Regions from separate parts of the Homo sapiens genome. Here all the other regions are linked to region 2. The links are contacts of gene promoters, found by promoter capture Hi-C in blood cells and fetal thymus (Javierre and others, 2016). All regions are on one chromosome and are shown on one strand. Each heading gives the region's core, a stretch centred on a gene start or on the middle of the fragment in contact. The rest is flanking DNA. Distances are from core to core; before and after follow the strand shown. Region 1 has its middle 230 kb from the start of TANK-AS1. Region 2 holds the start of LINC02478 (long intergenic non-protein coding RNA 2478). Region 3 has its middle 250 kb from the start of TANK-AS1.

Region 1 (2,700 bases), core at 40-2,539, 660 kb after region 2:
CTCCTCAGCTTGCAGACGGCCTATTGTGGGACCTTACGATGGTGTCAGTTAATACTACTTAAGAAACTCAAATATATGAGAGAGCTATATACATATATATATCTTATTAGTTCTTTCCCTCTAGAAAACCCTAATACACCCTCTCTGGGGGTCAAGTGACACAGGCACTTTCTTTTACCTCTATGTCTTTGCTACAGTGATGTATCCCTCTGATTTATATTCATGCTTCAGGATCACCTCATTCACTAGCCTTGCATTGATACAGATGCCCCATTTCTTGTCAATGCTTTATTTATGCAATTACACATATTAATTTAGCAAATATTTATCAATATGTCCTAAATATGAAATACCATATGTATTAATAATAAGAAAGATACAAAGATAATTAAATATGTATCTTGAACTTAAGTATCTTACTGTCTTGTTTGAGACACAGAGTGGTAGCATAAATAATCCTAATACACAGATGGTATTAAATACTACTAAAATGATATAGATAAGGTACTATGAGAATTCAAACCCAGAAAAAAATTACTTCTAAAAAAAGATTAGCAAGAGCACAATTGGGAAATATTTCATGGAAGAAGTGGCTTCATACCATAGCCTTGTACACAAATAGACCAGAGAAAGACAGGTATTTCAGATGTTATGATAGTACCAGCAAAGGCATGGAGGTGGGAAGAAACTAGAAGACAGACAGGATGGAGTTCAGGGGGGCTCAAAAGAAGAGGATATAAAAGGATGTTTGGGGAAATAAATGTGTAGCAAGGTTCTTGGCATTGAATGATATGCTGTGTCTTAATTGTTGCTTTGTAGCCCTTAAAAGCTTGTGATGAGTAAGATGATCGGAGGTCGACTCTAGGAAGACCACTCTGGCATGCGTGCAGGCAAAAAGGAGAAGTTACTTTACAAAACTTTTACAACTGACTTCAAGGAAACAGCACTGAGACCCTGAATTAGGGTAGTGACAGTAAGAATGAGAAGGAATAAACGTATCTAACAGAGATTCCAAAAGTAGAATAAACAGAAATTAGCAACCGGTGAGAATAGAGGATAAGAAAGACTGAGAAGTAGGAAGTGACTCCACGATATTTTATTTATTTATCTTTGAGACAGGGTCTCACTCTGTTGCCCAGGCTGGAGTGCAGCAGCACAAGCACAACTTACTATAGGCTCAACCTCCCCTGGGATGGCTCAGTTGACCCTCCCACCTCAGCCTCCTGAGTAGCTGGGACCACAGGTGTACACTACCATGTCTGGCTAATTTTTTTAATTTTTGGTAGAGTCAGTATCTCCCTGTGTTGCCCAGGCTGGTCTGGAACTCCTGGGCTCAAGTGATCCTCCTGCCTCAGTCTCCCAAACTTCTGGGATTACAAGCATGAACCACTGTGTGTAGCCCCATGATTTTATAATGTACTGGTATACGGATACACCAGACATATAGATGCTCTTTTATTCAGTTAACAAATACTTATTGAGCATCTACTGTGCACCCAGAATTAGGCTACAAATTGGAGATACAGTAGCAAATGGAAAAAACAAAATAGAACCCTGCATTTAGGGAGCTGCCAATCTGCAGGAAGAGGTAGAGATACAGACGAAACTATTAGGGATTCTATGGTAGAGGCTGCCTCAGAATAGAGGGAGCCAAAGGAGTGAGTGGTTAAGCCACTGTTGGATGGAAGGATCCTCAGAGACCAGGTTGTGGAAGAGGCAGATGCATAAGATCATGTGCAACACTGCCAAGAAGCTTGCCTGTGAGAGCCTTTCTCTCCCACTCCTCAGAGGGGTCTTAGCCTCAAATGAAACAAATACGTGGATTCTTTCAGTGTTTATGTTAAGAAAACAATATAACTTCAATTGTACTTGTATCAGGTAATGGTATCAGTTTATATAACTTGTGGTGGGGAAGGAGGGGGATTGACAGCTTGAAGAAGTGAAAAGAGTTACAAATGAAGGCATTAAACCAGGCTTGCTCTCTGCTTCTCCCACTGGCCAGCTGGGTGACATTTTATTTAACTTCTCTTGGCCTCAGTTTTCTTATTCATAAAATGTTGATTTTTTAAAAAAACCTACTTAAACCATATTATGTTGTAAAAATAAAAAAATAAATATAGAAGAAATGTACAAGCCATAAAATATTACATAGTTACAAAATATTACTAACCATATCTGTTTCAGTCAAGATTTCTATAGAAAGGAAATGGCAGACTCACATTAGATTGGAGGAGAGTTTATTTACAGAGGGACTGTTTACAAAGTGCAGGCAGGGTTAGGGGAATAGTGCAATGCTCCAGGGAGAGTAACATCAGAGGAGATGTTATCACATCTGGGCCCAAAGGGACAAGAGGCCTGAGTCACTGTGGGAATTGGGAAAGAGAAAATCCTATGAGATGTAGAAGGCATCTGCAAGCAACACAGCAAAGAGGAAGCCCAGGAAACAAATACCTTGTTTACCCTCCCCCTTTCCTGCGATTAGCCACTGGGAAGTCCACCGGCCACAGAGCCAATCAGAAGCCAGAGAGGGGGAGATCCTAGTGGATGCCTCCCTATAGGTCAGCCTCTGGGATCAGTGAGTTGGGAAGAGAAGGTATCTATCTGACCAAATAGCAGTGGTTATCTATTCATCAACTTCAGTGAATGTAAAATCACCCCCAGAGAGCTTGTGAGAAATGAACATTCTGGGCCCTACCCCAG
Region 2 (2,700 bases), core at 133-2,632:
GAGAGGTCGGTGACCTTTGTCCCAATGGCGCTGGCTCTTTTCCTTTTTGGCTACCCTAATGGAATGAGGATATAATCAGTCATATCTTAACATTCATTGAGCCCCGGCTCAGGCTGGGAGGCACTGCCTTTCTCCTAGTGAATTTTAAATCAGTATTTGTGGGATTTAAGCTCCAGCGGATAAACCTAGAGCCACTGGCCATGAAGGGTGTGGCAGTGGGGTGAAAAACGGGACTCCCGCCTCCACTCCCTGGCTTTCCTCATTCCAGCCACTATAGAGGGGAAAATACGTAGACCACAGAGCAACGGCCACACCCTCTTTCCTCTCCTCCAACCCCAGAATTCCACTTCAGTCTCAGAGCTTTCAGCTAGGTGGGGTTTATCCCCAAACATGCCACAACCCCTCTAGTTATATGGGAGCGGTAACTGTGAACCACCATCGCTGGCTTGATCCTCCCTTTTCCGTGGATTGGTGCTCCTGAGTATGTTTACCGGTTTCAGTACATAACACAGCCAGATAGAGGGCCGCGGACTTCAGCGGCGAGAAGCTACAACAAAAATAGGGTGAACAAAAACGAAGGTGCCCAGGAGCCTGAATTGCATTTCTTTCTTACCTTTGGTCATAGAAAGGAGCACTTAGGTGTTTGGCTGGAACGCAAAGTGAGACCAGAGCTTACATTCTTAGCAGCCTGGGTTTGTCTCGAGAGGCCATGCTTCTCTCCTCCCTGACATTTTGCTCTCAGAAGCACCAGTTAGCATCAGAGGAATGTTGTTTCCTTCTCTGAAACAGCCATCAAGTACCAGCGATTTCTTGGCTCCGGCAAGTTAAGTGCTCTGACCCCTCCCTTATCTAACTCACCCCGCACACCATCCACATGGCAGGGGACGCAGCCAGAAATGGAGCGGACTGCATCTTTTCCTTGCCCACTCTTTTTATCACCATGACAGAGCCACTGGACACCAGGAAATAAATACTGAACCACCACACTAAAACGTTTACTCCACTTTGGGCAGAAGGAGCCTATTTTGCATATTAAGTGCCTCCTATAAAGCAGTCAAGTGAGGGAAAGAGGAGTTCTCGCTCCTCCGTGAATGCTGCACGGGAGCCTCCAGTCGGGAACAGCTGAACAGGTAGCTCTGAAAGAGGACCTTGGTCATAAACGCATAGATAAGATTATCCCGAGGTTCTCGCCCACATGCTTCCTTACCACAGGTGGGAGGGCTGCTGTTAGGCTGTCTTCCTTGCTGAGCATTGACAAGCAATGAAATAGTTGAGGCGTAGCAGCAAGAAAGGAGGAAGAAAAAGGGCCTGGTTTTTTGGTCTTTAAGAACAGACCACTAGTGGTGTATTTTGGGCTGGATATTTGCTGAGCCGACCGTTGACGTGCTGAGCTGACGGTTGACGTGCTGAGCTGAGGGTTGACGTCTCTGGTCATTACACAGATTTAAATAACCAGCAAAAGTGGGGTGGAAAGGTTTTTCCAATTGTTTTCAAGGAAATGTATTTTGAGGATATATTGAATCTGACATAACTTTCAACTCACTTTCAAACCAATCTACTGAGCTGAAGAAAGAGATCAGAAATGAAATGAAATTCTGATATACACTTAATCGACTTAAAAAAAATTGACAGGAAAAATAAAATTTCAGATGTTTTTTATTCAAAGGTTCTCAAAAGAAATAAAACAGAAAAGCTAACAATCTGATCAAATGTACAGTTCAAAAATGTCTTTTGGCGTTTAACAACAAGTCCTAGGAAAGAAAACTACAGAGTTATCTTGAACCGGACAAATAAGTTACCACTGGCAAGTCTGTGGCACTAGTAAAACAAAAATAAAAAATTAACTCTCTTGATCATATAGATATCTCTATGAAAATCTTTTTTTTTCAATCTGTACAAAAGGTCTTTCTTCATAAATTAATTTTTTTATAATTTAATGGCTGTCTACTATGTGATGTTTAACTGATTTTTTTTTTTTTATGTACAGAGGTTATGTTTCCCAAATCTTACCCAGACGAGTATGGCACTTAGTTCAGACATTTCTAGCAGCAGATTTCCCCTCCCCTCTAACCGAGCTATCAAATTTCTGTCTTAACTAATGCAAAAATATCAAGTAGTGAGAGACCCAGGTTTATAACTGTACTAGGTACACAGAGGGTGCTGCGTTCAGTCTGGACTTTCACAAAGCAGTAATATTCCAGGGAGCATAGAACCAATAATACCACAACTTTAAAAAAATGAAACAAAAACAAAAACAAAAACACATTTCTCTTATGACTATGTAATTTTCACTAGAATCTACACTTCTCAGAGCAGCAAGGACTTTTGAAACTATGAAATGTCACTGACATCTATCATCAAATACAAGCATAAAATTTAAGAACTAAAAAATACTTGAAAGAAATAACTGCTTAGCCCTAGCTCCTGAGCTAGGAGGATTTGGTCTGTGGAAACAGGGAGGGCCAGCAACCTGTCCCAGCACAAAAGAAAATAGACTCTGAGGTAGATAACTGATCATACACAGCTGACCAGACAAGTACACAGTTTTGGAAGACAACTTAATTTACCATTGCTTTTAAAACATATGCAATTGCCTTAATAAAAGAGCTTTAATAACAGTGAATTATCTTATATGTACTAAAGTAGAAATAACTGTGTATTTATGAATCAGGAATTTCATAGTTTCAAAATTGGTTTTCT
Region 3 (2,744 bases), core at 231-2,730, 640 kb after region 2:
TGCCCACAAACAACCCACATTTTCCTTTTTACTTCCTGCCACCTTGTCTGAACCAGAGCAGCTGCTCTGCCCACCACCAGACAATGTCAATTCAAGGTGGGTGGAGAGGATGTAAAGCCTATTGGTCTTAGATCCAAGATATGTTCTCCAACCCATTACTAGCAAGAAAGGCCATTTTTTATTCCTGTCTGACCTCTATTATCTACTTCTCAAAGTAGTTCAGAACTCAGAGAAGAGTTAAGTTTTCTGGGGTCTTGAAAACACCAACTTCCCTTTAGCAATTATCTTACTGTAGTTTAATATTTGATTGGCCATACGCCTTTGTGCTAGAGCATAAGCAATTTGAGAGTAAAATCTAGTTCTTTTTATCTTTGTAAGCCCTGACCTAACACAGAGTAGCATTAATGTTGTTTCCACCCATCAATCATTACACTAATATCTAATAAAATAGTAATAAAATGATAACCTGGTTTTAAAAGACTTCACTCAAGCAATTACATAAGCTGCATTTGTAGGTATAAAATTATTACCTGGGGTAAAGTGCCATATTATTGACTGATTTGATCTAATGAATATTACAAGTAGACTGAAGTGTGAGTACTTAGTTCGGGCTGCTATCACCAAACACCAAAGACTGGGTGGCTTGTATGCAACATATTTATTTCTCACAGTTCTAGAGGCCGAAAGTCTGAGATCAGGGGATACCAGTCTGAGATCAAGGTCTAGTGAGGGCCCTCTTTCTTGTTGCAGACTGTCAACTTTTCATTGTATCCTCACATGGCAGAAAGATGACTCTCTGTGGCCTACTTTATAAGGGCACTAATCCCATTCATGAGGGCTCTATCCTCATGACCTAATTACCACCCAAAGTCCCCACCTCCTAATACTATTACCCTGGGGGGTTAGGACTTCAACATATGTATTTGCAGGAGGACCCAAACATTCAGTCCACAACTATCTCCCTCCTGCTGTTCTCCCTAATCTACATTAGAATACACAATTCTAATGTATTATGTGTGTATGAATGAGGGCATTGGATATTAGGGATGCCTTACTTTTCTTTTTTAAATTGTTTAAAATTTTACTTTAACTTCTGGGATACATGTACAGAATGTGCAGGTTTGTTACATAGGTATACATGTGCCATGGTGGTTTGCTGCACCTATCAATCCATCATCTAGGTTTTAAGCTCCGCATGCATTAGGTGTTTGTACTAATGCTCTTTCTCCCCTTAGCCCCCACCCACTGACAGGCCTCAGTGTGTGTTGTTCCCCTCCCTGTGTCCATGTGTTCTCCTTGTTCAACTCCCACTTATGAGTGAGAACTTGTGGTGTTTGGTTTTCTGTTCCCGTATTAGTTTGCTGAGAATGATGGCTTCCAGCTTCATCCATGTCCCTGCAAAGGACATGGTCTCATTCTTTTTTATGGCTGCATAGTATTCCATGGTGTTTATGTGCCACATTTTCTTTATCCAGTCTATCACTAATGGGCATTTGGGTTCATTCCAAGTCTTTGCTTTCATAAATAGTGCTGCAATAAACATATGTGTGCATGTATCTTTATAGTAGAATGATTTATAATCCTTTGGGTATATACCCAGCAATGGGATTGCTGGGTCAAATGGTATTTCTGGTTCTAGATCCTTGAGGAATCGCCACACTGTCTTCCCCAATGGTTGAATTAATTGACACTCCCACCAAGAATATAAAAGCGTTCCTATATCTCCACAGCCTTGTCAGCATCTGTTGTTTCCTGACTTTTTAATAATTGCTATTCTGACTGTCACGAGATGGTATCTCATTGTGGTTTTGATTTGCATTTCTCTAATGATCAGTGATGATGAGCTTTTTTTCATATGTTTGTTGGCCGCATATATGTCTTCTTTTGAGAAATGTCTGCTCATATACTTTGCCCACTTTTTGATGGGGTTTTTTTTTCTTGTAAATTTGTTTAAGTTCCTTGTAGATTCTGGATATTAGGCTTTTGTCAGATGTGTAGATTGCAAAAATTTTCTTCCATTCTGTAGGTTGCCTGTTCACTCTGATGCTAGTTTCTTTTGCTATGCTGAAGCTCTTTAGTTTAATTGGATCCCATTTGTCAATTTTGGCATTTGTGGAAATTGCTTTTGGTGTTTTAGTCATAAAGTCTTTGCCCGTGCCTATGTTGTAAATGGTATTGCCTAGGTTTTCTTCTAGGGTTTTTATGGTTTGGGGTTTTACATTTACATCTTTAATCCATCTTGAGTTAATTTTTGCATAAGGCGTAAGGAAGGGGTCCAGTTTCAATTTTCTTCATATGGCTAGCCAGTTTTTCCCAGCACCATTTATTAAATAGGGAGTCCTTTCCCCATTGCTTGTTTTTGTCAGGTTTGTTGAAGGTTTGCACAAAATCAATGTGCAAAAATCATAAGTGTTCCTAGATAGCAACAATAGACAAGTAAAGAGCCAAATCATTAATGAACTCCCATTCACAGTTGCTACAAGGAGAATAAGATACTTAGGATTACAACTTACAAAGGATGTGAAGGACGTCTTCAAGGAGAACTACAAACCACTGCTCAAGGAAATAAGAGAGGAAACAAATGGGAAAACATTCCATGCTCATGGATAAGAAGAATCAATATCGTGAAAATGGCCATACTGCCCAAAGTAATTTATGGATTCAATGCTATTCCCATCAAGCTACCATTGACTTTCTTCACAGAATTAGAAAAAAAAAAAAACTACTTTAAATTTCATATGGAA

Evidence for each region. Contacts are between HindIII fragments. The CHiCAGO score rates a contact against its expected background, and 5 or more counts as called.
Region 1: a fragment that was not itself captured here is called in contact with the fragment with the promoter of LINC02478 in region 2 in 6 of 17 cell types (monocytes, total CD8 T cells, activated CD4 T cells and 3 more); the score reaches 8.5 in monocytes.
Region 3: a fragment that was not itself captured here is called in contact with the fragment with the promoter of LINC02478 in region 2 in 2 of 17 cell types (non-activated CD4 T cells and activated CD4 T cells); the score reaches 6.1 in non-activated CD4 T cells.

What each region holds. Positions count from the first base shown.
Region 1 is chr2:160,930,825-160,933,524 of GRCh38, forward strand. No RefSeq gene overlaps it. Among named protein-coding and RNA genes, the nearest start is that of TANK-AS1, 230 kb to the right of the region's middle. The HindIII fragment of the contact is 924 bases long and covers 828-1,751 here.
Region 2 is chr2:160,270,513-160,273,212 of GRCh38, forward strand. It overlaps LINC02478 (long intergenic non-protein coding RNA 2478), which reads right to left and starts at 1,383. Exons shown (of 2, transcript NR_103775.1): 1 at 1,208-1,383. RBMS1 (RNA binding motif single stranded interacting protein 1) reads right to left here. Exons shown (of 14, transcript NM_016836.4): 14 at 1,639-2,700. RefSeq lists an enhancer at 1-200. The HindIII fragment of the contact is 15,786 bases long and covers 1-2,700 here.
Region 3 is chr2:160,913,494-160,916,237 of GRCh38, forward strand. No RefSeq gene overlaps it. Among named protein-coding and RNA genes, the nearest start is that of TANK-AS1, 250 kb to the right of the region's middle. The HindIII fragment of the contact is 6,579 bases long and covers 1-2,744 here.